Regions from separate parts of the Homo sapiens genome. Here region 1 is linked to region 2. Evidence: promoter capture Hi-C in human tissues and cell types (Jung and others, 2019). All regions are on one chromosome and are shown on one strand. The core of a region is centred on a gene start or on the middle of the fragment in contact, and the rest is flanking DNA. Distances in the headings are between cores, read along the strand shown.

The links. The method cuts DNA at HindIII sites, captures the fragments that hold promoters and counts their contacts. A contact is called where the count stands out against the background at its distance.
Region 1: a fragment that was not itself captured here is called in contact with the fragment with the promoter of FAHD2A in region 2 in 1 of the 25 tissues and cell types used here (dorsolateral prefrontal cortex).

The regions. Positions count from the first base shown.
Region 1 is chr2:95,533,318-95,537,313 of GRCh38, forward strand. No RefSeq gene overlaps it. Among named protein-coding and RNA genes, the nearest start is that of LINC03052, 8.6 kb to the left of the region's middle. The HindIII fragment of the contact is 3,299 bases long and covers 294-3,592 here.
Region 2 is chr2:95,400,175-95,404,082 of GRCh38, forward strand. FAHD2A (fumarylacetoacetate hydrolase domain containing 2A) reads left to right here and starts at 2,534. Exons shown (of 8, transcript NM_016044.3): 1 at 2,534-2,698. RefSeq lists enhancers at 1,304-2,243, 2,173-2,252, 2,244-3,182, 3,323-3,442. The HindIII fragment of the contact is 15,771 bases long and covers 1-3,908 here.

The DNA.
Region 1 (3,996 bases), core at 693-3,192, 130 kb after region 2:
CTTACTTGGTCAATATGTCTCCCAAATCCTGCAAAGAAAACAAGAAAAGCTTCAGAAATGGGCTACTCTTCCAACCCAACCTTTAGGTTTGGTAAAGTATAGAATAGTGCCATCCCTGAAATGCTTTGTAAATTCCTTTTCCTTTTCATTTCCAAAGTTGATCCCAGTACAACATATTTACAGGATGGCTTTAAACTCTTGATGAATTCAAAGCCCTGGTGGTGAATAGAGGAAAGGAAATGTGTGGCCATGCATTGCTGCAATCAACTGCCTACAAAGTGGACTTTCCCAGGGCTTGTTTCTAAAGGATAATATGTTATAAATTAAGAACAAACAGGAGGAAGAAATAAGTGTTTTTCTTCCCCAAATTCTCCATTTCGCTAAATTGGAGACAAAAATGGGATAGTCACAAATAAGTTAATTTTTTTCTGTTTTTGAAAAGCAAGCTACAAAAGAAGTTTACTAGAGGGTAATATTCTCTGTGGCCAATTTTGATAAATGGGAATAGAAAATTATATCCACTTAAAAATTCCACAAGCTTGCTTGTTCATGGTTAGGAAAAGAATTACATTTTGTCTATGTTATTTCTATTTGGAAAAGATCCTCCATCTTAGCAGCAGGAGCTAAATATTTTATATATATATATATATATATATATATATATATATATATATATATATGCATACACACATATACATATATATATATATATATATATATATGCATACACACATATACATATATATACACACACACATCTATGGTGTTGAATAAATAATATCACCTAAGCCAGTGGTGTGCAATCTTTTGGCTTCCCTGGGCCTCATTAGAAAAAAGCATTGTCTTGGGCCACACATGAAATACACTAACATTAACTATAGCTGAAGAGCTTTAATAAAATGACAAACAAAAATCTCATCATGTTTCAAGAAAGTTTAGGAATTTGTGTCGGGCCATGTTCAAAGCCATCCTTGGCCATGTGTGGCCCAAAGACCATGGGTTGGACAAGCTTGTTGTAAGGTATGAACTTCAAATAATATAAAAATTTTTTAGGCATGTTATTGGTTCTTTCCTGGAGCAGCTCCACATCTAGATCATGGCACATTTTCATCAGCTCCTTATAGATTTTTCTTAGGTGTTTTTTTTTTTCTGAACCATTTTGCGTTTTTGCTTTTCTTAAGTTGCTGTAAAATCTTTCTGTCATCCTCTGTAAGTTTCTCTATATGTTGTTTTACTTCTCATAGGGAACTGAATGCAGCTTCCTCTACTCAGCTCTGGTCATCTCTGCCCATAGCTGCACATAGCACTGCAGGGACCTGGATTTCCTAGATGACATATTTATTCTGACTTCATCCTCCTCCTCTTACACATCCTTTATTCACTTTAACTCAGGTTCTCTTTTCTTTATCTCTTTCATCTTTTCTTCATAATAAAGTTAGGGGTCTCACTATGTTGATGGCCAGGCTGGTTTGAAACTCCTGGTCTCAAGTGATTCTCCTGCTTCGGTCTCCCAAATTATACGGATTATGGACTTGAGACACCAAGCCTAGACTGACTCATGTATTCTACCAATAAGCTATGTACATAAATTTGTGTCTTCCTACTTCTCAGAACCATGAAATCAATCATTCCTCCCTTTCTTTCATTTATCTTTATTGTTTCTTAACAATACTAGAAGTCAAATTCATTCTTTTCTCATACCACTTTTATTCATTATATGACTTCCTGAAACACCTGAAGAAAGGTTATTATTGATCATTTCTTCAATATATACCCTTTGATATTGAAAAACCTACATGAGAGCCATTGGAATTAATGGTTGATTCACAGATAATTGTTTGCAGTATTATGATCTCTGTGTTTTTAAATTAGTCTTTAGTACCAAGTCTCCCTACTGCATAGCCTGACCACTCTCTCTGAGCAGTAATCAATGCTGCATTGTACCCTCAGGATTGGAAGCCATGAGAAAAAATCTTCCTCAAATCCTAACCAACACGATTTCCATTCAAGTGATAAGTGGATACATTTCTAGCATGTCTGTCTGAGGTTGAATCTGAGGGAAAAGGCCTAATACTTACAATCCACTGGCTGGGTTTCCTGCTTTTCTCACTTAAATTTCTTTGGTTTTCTTGAATTTTTGCCCATAAAGATCTCATTTGCTTCATGATCTTCTCCTGTAAAAGAACTATGAATGTGAACATCAGAGAAGCAAATCGTTTTGGGTTTCAGACCCCCAGTGATAAAGAAATCAACTGATGAGATATGAAAGATTTGGGAAGATCTCAGACTGTAGAACCACAACATGTAATGCAACAAGTTTATAGGAAAATCATAAGCAGGGCTAATTTATAGATAATGTGGCATCTTGCAGCAGAATTGGAATCTACTGACACCATGCCTTGCTAATTCTAGCATATTTTATTCTATTATTTCCAGTGTTGGTACATAGGTTTCTTATATAGAAGCCTTTTGAACTTGTAGTTTGGATAGCCAGAAACTCTTCCTGATATTGAGCTCTTTACAGTGCCTTGAACATTACACTAAATAGTCAAATTATTATAATGATTATTAACTTCATCACTCCTTCAGTGAAATGTAAGTTCAAGGAAGGAAGGTATTCTCACAGATTCCACTGAAATTTTTATCATTGATACCTAGGCACTACATGACATCCAGTACAGAACAGACTAATCATCATGCTCTTCAACTTCCCCCTAATCTCTTTACTTGTGCCATCCTCCAGCTTTCAAAGTGCTCTCAGAGCCATCACTTACCCAGTGTTCCTTAGCTGCCCCTCACAGTGTCTGTGATCCTGGTGCTCCTGAGTGTCCCAGAACAGCAAATGAAGCAGGCTCTTGTCCACCTCTTCAAATATCTTTTTGTCTCCCTGTGGGTTCCACACATTTGTTCATTAGAGCTCAGGAATTGCCAGAGACTGGTTTTCCTGGTAATGCACACTAGATTCTTCAGAAGAATATTGGTTTTGATGTCCTCCTGCTGTGATGGTTCCCTGAATGTGGGCAGCAGGTAGGAATTTTGGCTTCTTCCCAGGAAAGGCAGAGACAGGGTCTACAGAAGCTGGGGACACAGCCTGTGGTGATGGGATCTACGAGTTAGTTCAGACAGAAGAGACAGATGGGCTCTTTCTGGAAGGCTTGTGTGATCTCTGAGACCATTTTCCTGAAGGAAGGAAATTAGGAAAGGTATCATTCAAACTTCTTCATCTTATGCCCTGGAGAAACACAGACCAAAGCAAAATTTGACTCAGGTTGTAACTCAATGATAAACTTCTGTCTAGAGTAGAATAAGCTTTATTTTGTATAAGACAAAAATAGAACCTGAGGTACAAAGAGAGCTCTCAGATCTGTAGGTAAAATTGTTGGGTTCATGCATAACTCACAGGGCACTACATACTACCCTTTTCTTTTGCATAGAAGAATGAACCTCAGAGAGGCCAGGTGTGGTGACTTACACCTGTAATCCCAGCACTTTGGGATACCAAGGCTGGTAGATCAGGTTGGAGACGACCCTGGCCAATATGGGGAATCCCCGTCTCTGCTAAAAATGCAAAAATCAGTCAGGAGTGGTGGCACATGCCTATAATCCCAGCCACTCAGGAGACTGGGCAGGAGAATCGCTTGAACCCTGATGTTGCCGTTAGCTGAGATTGAGCCAATTCTCTTCAGCCTGAGCAATAAAGCAAGACCTATAAAAGAAAGAAAAAGAAAGAATGGAAGGAAGGAAGGAGGGCAGGAGGGAAGGAAGGAGAGAAAGAGAGGAAAGAAGGAAAGAAAGAAAGAGAAAGAAAAGAAAGAAAGAAAGAAGAAAACAAAAGAATCCTCAGTTTTGTTGAATTTTGACTTTACTCCAAAAAGCTTGAGGTTTAAGGGGATGAAATTAGGACCAATTTATACCATTAGATGATGGGTCCTGAATACTCTGAAAACCATTCTTAATGCTCGTTGTGATTGGTTTAGAAAAGATTGATTTTGTACA
Region 2 (3,908 bases), core at 1,284-3,783:
TCCCATATGATCTGCAAGTGTCTCAGAGGTTAGGCAAAGGGCTGATCTTGTATAGGGAGGCGTAAACGTGGCTAGAAAGAACTGTTATGGGAAAGTGGGCTGAGCAAGAGTGTCACGATCGAGGAGGTCTTACCCTGCGGACAGCCTGTTCTCAGGAGGGAACCTCAGGAGGGCTGCGGGTTGGCACAAGCTGTGGGTGGGCCAAAGCTCAAGGGCTTGGAAAAGGAGAGAATCTGAACCAAGGTTTGGTTACAGGCTTTTGTTCTTATTGATCTGTGGGACAAGCAGCCCAGCTAATCATTTATGAGGCCAAGAATGGGAATTTAGAGGGTCTGTGTCTGGCCTGGTCACAGATAAACAAGGGAGCATCTGGGAGTCTTATCCAGGTTATATAGAAAGTCACTGGTTCTTTCCAGTAGGGGGTTTTCTGGAACAAAAGAGTGGTGGGATTCCTTAACCTTCACTATTTCTAGAAGCAAAGGGCTAAGGTAAAATTCAATACTGTCAATAGTCAGGATTGAAATGGCTACATCATATGGTAGGTGTATGTTTAATTCTCTTCATACACTGACAAATGGTTTTCGATCGTGGTGGTACTATTTTATAATCCCATCAGCAGTGTACAAGAATCCCAGGTCCTCCACATTCTTGCCAGTACTTGGTATAATCAGTCTTCTTTGTCCATTCTAGTAGGTGTGAGATGGTGTCACATTGCGCTTGCAATTTGCATATCCTTAATGATTAATGATGTTGAGCATCTTTTCATGTCCTAATTTTTTCTTTCTTTTTTTTTTTGAGACAGAGTCTTGCTTTGTCGCCCAGGCTGGAGTGCAGTGGCACGATCTCGGCTCACTGCAAGCTCCACCTCCCGGGTTCCCGCCACTCTTCTGCCTCAGCCTCCCCAGTAGCTAGGACTACAGGCGCCCACCACCACGCTCGGCTAATTTTTTGTATTTTTAGTAGAGATGGGGTTTAACTGTGTTAGCCAGGATGGTCTCGATCTCCTGACCTTGTGATCCGCCTGCCTCGGCCTCCCAAAATGCTGGGATTGCAGGCGTGAGCCACTGCGCCCAGCCTTCATGTCCCAATTTTCTGTCTGTATATCTTATTTGATGAAATGTCAGTTCAAATATTTTGTCCATCTAAAAAATTGAATTGTTTGATTTTATCTACTGACTTTTAAGCATTCTTTCTATATTCTGGATACAAGTCTTTTTATCAAATATAGCCTTTACAGATATTTTCTTCCAGGCTGTAACTTAGCTTTTCAGAAAGTCTTTGGGAGCTATGGCTTAGTGAAACCCTTGTGCCAGGTTCTCCTCAGCGAATCCCCCTGATCACAGCCACCCCCATAGGTTCCATTTCAATATCTGTGGTGACCTTCTGCAAGCTAGGCTGAAGTCCCAAGCTCCAGACCCATGTCTCCAACTGCCCACCGTTCAATGCCCTTTGGATGTCCCATGCAAATCGGAGCTCACCATCCTCTCCCCAGACCCGCTGCTCCTCCAGGAGCCCTGTCTCCATGAACGGCCCTGCACCTACCGAGCTAGAGACCCAGGAGTTGGCCTTGTACCTCCTTCCTTCTCACTTCCACCTCCTGTCATTCAGAGCTGTCAGTTCTTCCTCCTGAACATCTCTGGACACTCACCTTCTCCACCACGCACCGCACCACCATTGTTCTCAACCGCACCACCCACCCAGACACCTTTCCTCAGACGGGTGGCCAGAGAAAAACTTCTCAAATAGAAGTCGGGACATGGCACGCCACTGAGAACCTTCCAGCGGTCTCCTGTGCACGTAAACAAGGTCCAGACTCCTTCGTGGGACAAGTAAAGCTCTTGATGATCTGGTCCTTGAGTAATGTGGGGGCCACTTGTACAGAGCCCCTCACACTGTTCAAAGTCGGCAGCTGAAGAGCTGAGCAGTAGCTGTCTGTGGAGTTCAGCTGCCACTCCCTACACGCCTGCCCTCTGCAGGGGATGGAGTCCCGTTTCCCCACTTCCCCACCTGCGCCCAGCAGTGCAGGTGAAGGCCTGGCTGCGGAGAGTGGCTGGGAAACGCTGCGCTTTGGGGTCAGGAATGCCAGCTCCACTACTCACCGCCTGTGTCACCCTGGGAAAACAGCTCTGGCCCCAGGTTCTCCATAAGTAAAACGGGGGCAGTCATCCCTCCCCTCCTCAACGACATATGTCAGAATCAGAAGCCACAAATCATTCTCTGCCACCCAGCACGCTGCCTTGGTCTCCTAGACCACTTTCCCCAACAATGGGAAAGGCGCCAGGCCCAGAACAAGGCCGAGACCGGATGAGGCCAGCGAAGCGCCCAGGGACAAACCTTCGGGCAGCGCCCACTCTCGAGTTCAGGCAAGTGCAGGGTCCCTCCGAGAGAGAGCGTCTCCAGAGAACGCGGCTGGCGCCTGGCTGAACCCGTAGCCTGAAGACCCGCCGGAGCCGCCCGCCCCACGATGGGCCCGCCCCTCCGGGATTGGCGCCCTGCTAGTGGCCATTGCCTGTGACGTCACAGGATCGCGCCCGCTTTTCTCTCGGGTGATCCGGCCGAGTGGCCCTGGGTTAGCAGCTGCTGCATTTCCCCGGCTGGCTGCGGTCACTGGTGGCAGTGCTCAGGCGCCCGCCGCCCTTGACCTTCGGCCCCGCGAGCTCTAACCCTACAGCGCAGGAAGATCGGCCGCCGCGGCCAGGTAGGACGAGCCTGGCTGGGTCTAGGCCAGAAGGGTGTCCGTGGCGCCGGTCTCCCGCGGAGCGCAGAACTAGTACCGGATCCCCAGCCGCTTCTGACCACACAGACGGGGCGGACCTGTGTGAGCACTCACTAACTGTCGGGGCTGGAGCTGGGCATATGGGGAAACTGGGGGACCGGCACGGGTTCCAGGCGAGTGGACGGTGGGATGGAATCCGACGTGCACACCCATGTCTCAGGCTTTGTTTGATGGAGGCTACTGTTTCCACCTCATGTCGCCGCCCCTTTGCTTATGGACTCTTGCAGAGTTGGATTGAGCTCGGGCTGTGTGATATAGTGGTTGTTGCAGAAGCCCCAGGGCCACTTTCTGACTAGTACCTTGGGCACCTGACATCATCCCTTTGAGTCTCAGTGTCCTCTTCTTTAAAGTGAGGGCGCTCTACCTGAGGAGATTGCTGTAAGGTTGGAATGAACCTGCATGTGTGTGTCATGTGGGAAGGGAACAGTCAGTGGGGCCTGGGGTTCTCTTGGAGAGCTGGTAACCAGCCTCGTCCCTGAGGCAACAGCCAGAGGGCGCCTGTAGTTTCCCCACGCATGTCTGTTAGCAGTTACGGCCTCTGGAGGATCTCCTGTGGGAGGTCCCTACTTCTCACTACAATCTTTAGAGACTTTGGAGGATTTCCTATGGAAGGTCCCCACTTCTCACCACAACATTCTGGGTTAAAATGGCCTTGGTAGGGGGATGGGGGCTGAAGCTGGATTTTTTTGCTTGCATTACAAGCTTCTGAACCAAGGACTTCATGTCACCTGGACTTGGATTCACATCCCAGCTCCTTCCTCTCCTAGCTCTAGGACTGTGTAACCTTGGGCAAATCTCTTAACCTCTTTAAGCCTTAATTGTTTCATCTGTAAAATGAGGCTAACAGTACCTACCTTCCACAATTGTCGAGAATTAAATCAGACATTGTAGGTAGAGCACTTAATAGTTGGCATTCAGCGGCAGCAGTTACTGTTATGTTAGCATGTGGAGTGTCTGAGTGTGTGCACATTGGCTCGAACAGCCTTTTGACAGTGGCACAGTTGGTGCTTGTGTAAGACAGCAGGGCAGAGAAGTCAAAGCCCTCGGTTTTCTAGTCAAACTGGTGGGCCACAACAGTGGTGACCTAAGTCTAATGAATCTTCAACTGAACAAGGCAGATTGAATCTCCAGG